3 separate regions of the Homo sapiens genome follow, and regions 1 and 2 are each linked to region 3. Evidence: promoter capture Hi-C in human tissues and cell types (Jung and others, 2019). All regions are on one chromosome and are shown on one strand. Each heading gives the region's core, a stretch centred on a gene start or on the middle of the fragment in contact. The rest is flanking DNA. Distances are from core to core; before and after follow the strand shown.

Region 1 (2,700 bases), core at 74-2,573, 41 kb after region 3:
GAGATGGTGGAGTCTGCTGCTTCACCAACAGGTTTGGATCAAGTTGACGAGATTGTTGCATCATTTGCTGCTGCACACTAAGAGGTCGACCCTTAAAACAATGAAATGATTGGAAAAAATTACTGGGGGAAAACGTCTTTACAGAAAACTACATATTCCTCTCCATTTTTGAATTCACTTTCGTCTCAGCAGAAAGGTGAATAATCACTGTATAATGTTCACATAACTCATGGGCAACCAGCAGACTTAATGAAAAACATACTGCATTACATCTTAGTAAGATTGTTTTAAGAAAGACATTTCTGAATCTCTTGCTACAATGGAGATAAGCAGAGTTTATTAACACAAAGACAGCATTGCGAGTTGCAGGGCGGGCTCTACCTGCTGGTCTTGCTGCGGCCGGTTCCCAGAAGGCACGCTTCTCTGACTCTGCGCCCTTTGCTGCTGCGCTAACAATCGCTAGAGGAAAGATAGCGAAAAGGTTGTTACTATCACACCATTACAAAGTGTGTGCTTCCAAATGACGACAGCAGATGGACCTACAGAGGCACGACGTGATCTAGCCAATGCCAACATGTCTAGCATTATCTAGTACCATCTCTTCCTTGGACTCTCTGGTTTCTAGTCACTGCTGAAATTCAGTCTTTAGTTCAATCTAAACTTTCACTTCAACAGAGAAACTTTTCCTAATCATCCTACTAACACTAGCACCCTGGACTTGGCTGAGGTTTCCTCTCACAGCATTCTGCACTTCTTCAAGACATTCTTCACAAATGTTCACGATCTGTCTCCCCCGATAGACTGTAAGCTCCATGAGGACTATGACTACGCCTGTTTTGTTTAGTGCACTATGTCCCGCACAGAGTCTAGTGTTTGGCATACAGTAGATGCTCCATAAATGTGTACTAAGAAAGACTATGACTCTGCTTACCTGTAACTGGGAGATCTGAGAAAGCTGGTTTAGCTGGGATAGCTGGTTCAGCATGGCTACCTGTTGAGGGCCAAAGAGTGGATTCAGGCCACCGTTGTTTGGTGCATACTTCAGCAATGAAACTGGAACCTTAGGATCACAATGGTAAGTTAATGATCTTGATAAAATAACTCACACTAACTACACGTACTGTGTGTTTTCAGTTGTCAATAGAGCAGTTAAATTTGTGGACTATTCATTGGGGGTTATAGTCTTTGTCTCTGTCTTACTAACTGACCACTCACTTACACTTTTTCGTGGGTTAAGTAAAAGATGACAGAGGTGCATCTTAAACTAGTCAATTTTACTTTGCTTTTGTCCTACTCTCAAGAATGTTTTAAAGAAGAAAATGGTAAATTTTGGATTTAAATTATCCTTGACTTTTCCTTACTACAACCTTTTTTAATAGTTAATTCAAAACTAGCTGAATCTCAAAGATGCCAATAAATATGATAATGCTTAGTTAGCCATTTTATTCAAATACAAAATCATGCAAGATCCTTTTTGCAGGTAAACAGGAGAATGTAAGGAAAGCTTATTTACCTGAGGGGAGAGTAATGGAGGAGGCACTTGAGCACGGAGATTAGGCTGAGATGAACTAAGAGGTTGTGCTGGAGGCTGCTGCATGCCCCGGGGTTGTGCTGCTGTGTTTCCAACACCAAACATACTGGGATTGCCATTCTATAAAAACAAACAGCAACAAGTAACAGTGGGATTCTTTAGGGACAAACATCTCATTACCACACTGTACTATGATTTAAACACAGTAACTACATGTAAGAGAGATCTTATTACTAATACAAATCATTCAACTGAGAGCCTAAAATACACATCTGGACTTACCTGTCTAACAGAATTCAAGTTTTGCATACCCAGCCCTGCTATGGAGCCAAGGGCCTGGTTAGGTAGTGCACTATTTGAAGGGGGAAGCTTCATGCTTTGACTGGACATAAACTGCATGTTTTGGGATTCATCTGCTACAATGCCATCCTGATTGGACAGACAGAAAGATGTGCAACACCAGCCAAGCAAACAAGTGGAAGGGAGAAATCATTGCAGGAACAGAAGAGAAGTCACATGACATTCCAGCATCAACAGGAAACAGGTAGAAAACAGAAGAGATCGGATTAGTGTTAATTCTAGAGCACACAAAAAGAGCCAAACATATTTCATGGGATTAAGAAGAAAAATATAAATGCAACCTCTATGATAAATTGAGACATAAAAAGACAGTGAACTTCAAAATCCAGTAATAAGATTTGGTAGTGGATTGTAACACTTTATATTATATAAAAGGTTTTAAAATATTAGTGTGAAAATTACGCTATGAAGTATACTGGTTTATCAAGTCAGAGGTAAAAGTAAAAAACCTTACCTTATCAAAATAAGGATTGCGCTCCATGGAAGACTCTTTGGAAATCTGAGGCCGAGAACCAGGGCCTTTCCCGACCGTTCGATTGTAATCACCAATATTTAGGCTATGTTTATCTATCTCCATTCGTTTGTCTTGTAACATTCCTAATAAAGGCAGGAGACTGTTATCAAACAGGAAGACAACCCAATTGGTTTCAGATAAATTTACAACAAAAGCAAAACACTCACTTTCCAAACTGAAATGACTTCAGCCAAGACAAGGGTATGTGAAAAATACACTTCCATTTCATAAATTTTGCATTCCTCACAAATGAAGTCGCAATTAGGAGATACTGTTATTTTACTGAAATAATTAA
Region 2 (2,700 bases), core at 79-2,578, 40 kb before region 3:
TTTGCATTCTCTTTTATTCTTTCCCTTTGGTTGTGATTTCTTGTTATTCTCTTTTAGGAAAAAAAAACTTATATGCACACATATTTCCTACATAAAGGGTGAGATTTATATGAGTGTCTGCTTGGAGTTCAGTATTTCTTCTTCATGATGTTTTTCTTCCTATTTGATGGGAAATCTAGCATACTATCTCTCCCAACATTTTAAAGTTTTTGTTAGTAAAATAGGGGGCTTTAGATCCAATTTTTATTAAATTGTTATATTCTTTATGTAACGTTTGCCTTGACCACACAATTTTTTCAGATCTGTAATGATTTTAACTGGATCATTATTTACTACCATTTTCTCTTTAGTCATAATACCAACTCTCGATTTTGTTTTGTTTCTGTCTTGTACCTTCAAGACAGGCACATAGGTCCTCCCTTTACTAAGTCTTTGCATGGTTCAGAATATTTCTGCAGCCCTGGCAAACAGAGAACTTGGCTGGTATCTGATCCTTACTTAGGATACAACTTTTCCCATAAAACACATCTGTAGCCCTTGCTCCACTGTCTTTTGGCATTTTATTGTTATGAAGGAGGGGAATGAGACCAGTTTGTTTATTATTTTTAGCTCACTACATTTTTTCTGTCTGGATTCTTTTTTTCTTATATACAGAGTCTCACCCTGTCACCCAGGCTGGGGTGCAGTGGTGCAATAATAGCTCACTGCAGCCTCGAGCACCTGGACTCAAGTGATCCTCCTGCCTCAACCTCCTTAACCTCCCTGATCCTCCAGTCCCCACCTGAGACCACAGGTGTGCACCACCACATCCAGCTAATTTTCCATTTTTCATAGAGTGGGGTCTTGCTTTGTTGTCCAGGCTGGTTTCAAGCTACTGGCCTCAAATGATCTTCCCACCTCTCTGTCTGTATTCTTTAGTATTTAAAAAGTATTCTTATACTTCACATTTTTTTCATAATGCTTCTTCTACCTGGAGATCTTGTTCATCGATTTTGCCTAAGACACAGCAAACCCTTCACACCTAGCTAGATATATCATCCTCCTTCTAAGAAAAGTTTTCTTTTGTGATTACTTTAATTATTTACTTTGTTCCATTTTTTTCTGACCTTTTTTCTAAGAATAAACATTTCTCAAAAAGCAAAAACAGAAAGAAAGAAAAAGAATAAACATTTCTCAAATGGTATATCTCTGCTCTCTATCTTCTATATTTGTCATCTTTTCTTTTATAATTTTATTATTTATCCCTTTTCTCTGCATTTTATTAGAACTCCTGTTTGTTTTCAGCCGGGCGTGGTGGCTCATGCCTATAATCCCAGCACTTTGGGAGGCCAAGGCGGGCAGAAGATGAGGTCAAGAGATGGAGACCATCCTGGTGAAGATGGTGAAACCCCGTCCCTACTAAAAATACAAAAATTAGCTGGGCATGGTGGCGTGTGTCCGTAGTCCCAGCTACTTGGGAGGCTGAGGCAGGAGAATCGCTTGAACCCGGGAGGTGGAGGTTGCAGTGAGCCAAGATCATGCCACTGCACTCCAGCCTGGGTGACAGAGCGAGACTTCATCTCAAAAAAAAAAAAAAAAGAACTCCTATTTGTTTTCATCCTGGGTTTGATTTTCTTTAGCGTTTGTTCTGCTCTTTACATCCACCTGTGGGGAGTTTAATTCTGCTAATTTTTTTAGAAAATTTTAGAAAATGTATTGTAATCTTCTGTAATCTTTTTCCTTTTTATCCGCTTCTATTCTCCCTTCACCTCAGTTTGTCCTCTACTTCTATCTTTCATACATGTTTCATAGAGTTCAGGATTCCAAGCATGGCACTCTCTTGATATTTTCTTCTGAGTCCTAAAATATATAATTTTCAGCACTATATTCTGCCATCTTTCAGGATTTTGATCCCTTTCGCTTTTCTGTGTTTTCTATATTAGTTTTCATAGCCTTTTTTTTTTTTTTTTTTTTTTTTTGAGACAGGGTCTCACTCTGTCTCAAAGCGAGACCAGGCCGGAGTGCAGTGGCACAATCTCAGCTCACCGCAGACTCAACCTGCCAGGCTCAAGCCATCCTCCCACCTCAGCCTGTCAGGTAGCTGGGACTACAGGCACATGCCACCAAACCTGGGTAAGTTTATGTTTATTTTTTGTAGAGACAGTCTCACTATGTTGCTCAGGCTGGTCTCAAACTCCTGAGCTCAAGCGATCCTCTTGCTTTGGCCTCCCAAAGTGCTGGGATTACAGGTGTGAGCCACCACACTCGGCCTTTGTTGTAGTCTTTAAGGCTTAATGAGTGGCTTACCTCTAAAAGATAGAAACCTGTGGAGAGTAGTGTCCCCCGCTTAACAATAATAAGAAGTTGGCTAATCAACAAAATAACTTCCCCTGAACCTATCAGAGAGCTGAGGCCATAGAGCAACCAACTGGCCTGAGATCTCAGAAAACACAGGAGCCTCCAAAGAGACATGACCGTTGGCAGCAAAACAAAGACAGGATCACCACACAAGCTGGTACGAAGAATTGGGCGAATATTTTGAAATGAAATGCTAAAGTCTAGGTGTGGGCTAGTGCTAGAGTTTAAAGCTTCTGGGCTGGATGCAGTGGCTCACGCTTGTAATTTCAGCACTTTGGGAGGCCGAGGCAGGTGATTGCTTGAGCCCAGGTGTTTGAAACCAGCCTGGGCAACATGACGAAACCCCATCTATTTAAAAAAATG
Region 3 (2,700 bases), core at 18-2,517:
AAAGGGAAAGAAAGGAATAAGGAAAGAAATAAAAGAAAGAAGGAAAGAAAGAAAGAACAAAGAAAAGAAAGGAAAAGAAAGAAAAAGAAAGAAAGAGAAAAAGAAAGAAAGGAAAGAAAAAGAAAATCACTGATATTGTGGCTGAGCTCATGGCCACAGGAATTGAGTCTTGGCTTGGCCACTCACTATCTGTATTACCTTGAGCAAGTTATTTAATGACCCTTAGACTCTGTCCATGAATTAGGGGGTGCTGTACCTACCTTACAGGGTTTCTGTGTCAGTTAGATGAGATCCAGGCGTAAAGTTCTCTGCACGTGTCTGACACGTACCAGTGAAGACTTGTATTTGCCTTGTAGTTAACAGCAGCTGCAGTTGTAGTAAATACATTCCTATAGCTTTTTAATGCTTATGTGGATACATTTACCTTCGTTATCTCTGGGTAACACACCTGTGGGGTGGGTCAGCCTGAGGTTCATATTCCCATTTGACAGATAAGGAACCTGAGACTCGGTGAGGCAAAATGTTTGGCTCAATGTCCCTGACCTTGGTTAAGTGGAAGAGCTGGGACCCACGTACGGTGCTGCTGGCTGCCGGCTGCTGGCTTCATACCACCATGCCCACCCCACAAACACACTCCATTGTCCTGGTGTATGACAAGCTTTCTCTGCAGAGAGGGCTGAGCTTCCCCTGCCCCACAGGTGACAGCTGGAGTCCTTCTGCCAGCACCTGTCCCCAGACCAACTTCCCAGTTTGGAGAGTGGCTACCTGTTTGGGGGCAGGGGGTGTCTTACCTTATTCCAGATGCAGGGCTCACCTGCCCTGGGGGCTGTCAGTGGCTTCTAAGGCACTAGGAGGTGGCGGTGGTTGTAAGGAGGGAGATACCCGGGATCCTCTCTCTTTGCAGCCAAGAGCTTCCGGAGACAGCAGTGACCCTTCCTCCTATATGCCCGCTGCTGAGAGAGCCTCCAAGCGGGTCAAACTCCAAACTCCAGCCTCAGCTGCAGCGGGGATTAAAGGAAGCGTGAATGATCTCCCCAGGGCAGAAGAGAGAACGGGGCCCAGCCCAGGACCCTTGAACTCTGAGCAGGTGGGGAAGGTGACATGTCCCACGCTCTGCCCACACCGTCCTCCACCAGGGTCCTCACCTGCGTGGGGACCCATGGCATGGAGGGGTTGGGGAGACGCTGGAGCCCAAGGCACCATCCTGCTTCACTCACCCAGTCTTCCACTGTCCCGCCTCCACGCTGGGGACAGGCAGGCTTGGGACGAGCTGGAGGAAGGGGAGGGGAGGAAAAATGCTGGCGGCGGATGGAGGGGACAGAGGCAAAGTGCCAGGAGGGACGTCCAGCCACAGCCCTCACCGCAGTGGCAGCAACAGGAACAGCAACCATTGCTTGTGCAACCCCTTTCCATATACTCTTCAGACAGAGGCATGGCAAAGAACAGGTGTCTGCCTGAAGTCGAGAGTTCGAGACCAGCCTGACCAACATGGAGAAACCCCATCTCTACTAAAAATACAAAGTTAGCCGGGTATGGTGGTGCATGCCTGTGGTCCCAGCTACTCGGGAGGCTGAGGCAGGAGAATCACTTGAATCCGGGAGGCGGAGGTTGTGGTGAGCCGAGATTACACCATTGCACTCCAGCCTGGGCAACAAGAGCGAAAATCAGTCTCAAAAAAAGAAGAAGAAGAAGAAGAAGAGGTGTCTGAGGCCCTGAAAAACCGTCAGGAGTGACCGAGCCATGGCCAGGCGCCCACATCGGGCCCAGGACATCAGCGGGGCATAGCGAAGATTTCTGCCAGATGCTCAAAGCATCCAAAACTTTATTTACTTTTTATTTCTGAGACAGGATCTCACTCTGTCACCCAGGCTGGAGTGCAGTGGTGGCATCACAGCTTGCTGCAGGCTCATCCTCCTGGGCTCAAGTGATCCTCCCACCACAGCCTCCCGAGTAGCTGGGACTACAGGCGTGCACCACCACACCCAGCTAATTTTTTCATTTTTTTGGTAGAGAGAGAATCTTGCTATGTTGCCCAGGCTGGTCTCCAACTCCTGGGTTTAAGTGATCCTCCCACCTTGGCCTCCCAAAGTGCTGGGATTACAGGGGTCAAACACTGTGCCAGGCCAAATACCAAAACATTTTAAAAATAGTTACTAGTATTTGCAAACCAAGAGGCTTGAAACATAATTCTAGAATACTCACTTTTCTAGAACAACCTGAAGATCTGGCCTCACCAGGCCCCCATGGCCACAGGACAGCTGCTGACTGGGGAGGAGTCGTGGCCTCCCCATCTCACTCCTTCACTGGGCCTGCCAGGCTCTGGGGGGCCCTCAGCTGAGGCCCCTGTCCTGGCACCGAGTAGCCAGAAATAATAGCAGTGATGAACACGTGCCAGGCTCTAAGGGCACAACATGCCTTTACTCACTTGGTCTTTCCAACAACCCTCGAAGTTAGGTCCTGTTATCTCTATCTTACTGACGAGGTAACAGAGGTAGAGGAGATGAGTCATCGGCCCAGGATCACCCGGGTTGTAAGTGACACAGCAAGATTTCAGCCCAGGCCACCTGGCTCTAGAGTCCTGCAGGAGCAGTGGAGGGTGGCTTGACTGGATAAAGGGTGGCCTGGGTGAGCAAACACTGGGTGACTGACCAACACCAGTATGAATGGGGCCTTTGGGGGAGGGACCTGCCCTGGGGGACA

What was found. The method cuts DNA at HindIII sites, captures the fragments that hold promoters and counts their contacts. A contact is called where the count stands out against the background at its distance.
Region 1: a fragment that was not itself captured here is called in contact with the fragment with the promoter of SLC5A11 in region 3 in 2 of the 25 tissues and cell types used here (bladder and neural progenitor cells).
Region 2: a fragment that was not itself captured here is called in contact with the fragment with the promoter of SLC5A11 in region 3 in 1 of the 25 tissues and cell types used here (IMR-90 fibroblasts).

What each region holds. Positions count from the first base shown.
Region 1 is chr16:24,803,965-24,806,664 of GRCh38, reverse strand. TNRC6A (trinucleotide repeat containing adaptor 6A) reads right to left here. Exons shown (of 25, transcript NM_014494.4): 12 at 2,346-2,488; 13 at 1,814-1,960; 14 at 1,514-1,651; 15 at 932-1,060; 16 at 382-459; 17 at 1-91. Among named protein-coding and RNA genes, the nearest start is that of SLC5A11, 41 kb to the left of the region's middle. The HindIII fragment of the contact is 5,372 bases long and covers 1-2,700 here.
Region 2 is chr16:24,884,915-24,887,614 of GRCh38, reverse strand. The region is part of intron 9 of SLC5A11 (solute carrier family 5 member 11); the gene reads right to left. Among named protein-coding and RNA genes, the nearest start is that of SLC5A11, 40 kb to the right of the region's middle. The HindIII fragment of the contact is 9,966 bases long and covers 1-2,700 here.
Region 3 is chr16:24,844,530-24,847,229 of GRCh38, reverse strand. SLC5A11 (solute carrier family 5 member 11) reads right to left here and starts at 1,267. Exons shown (of 17, transcript NM_001352248.3): 1 at 1,218-1,267; 2 at 792-998. The HindIII fragment of the contact is 12,271 bases long and covers 1-2,700 here.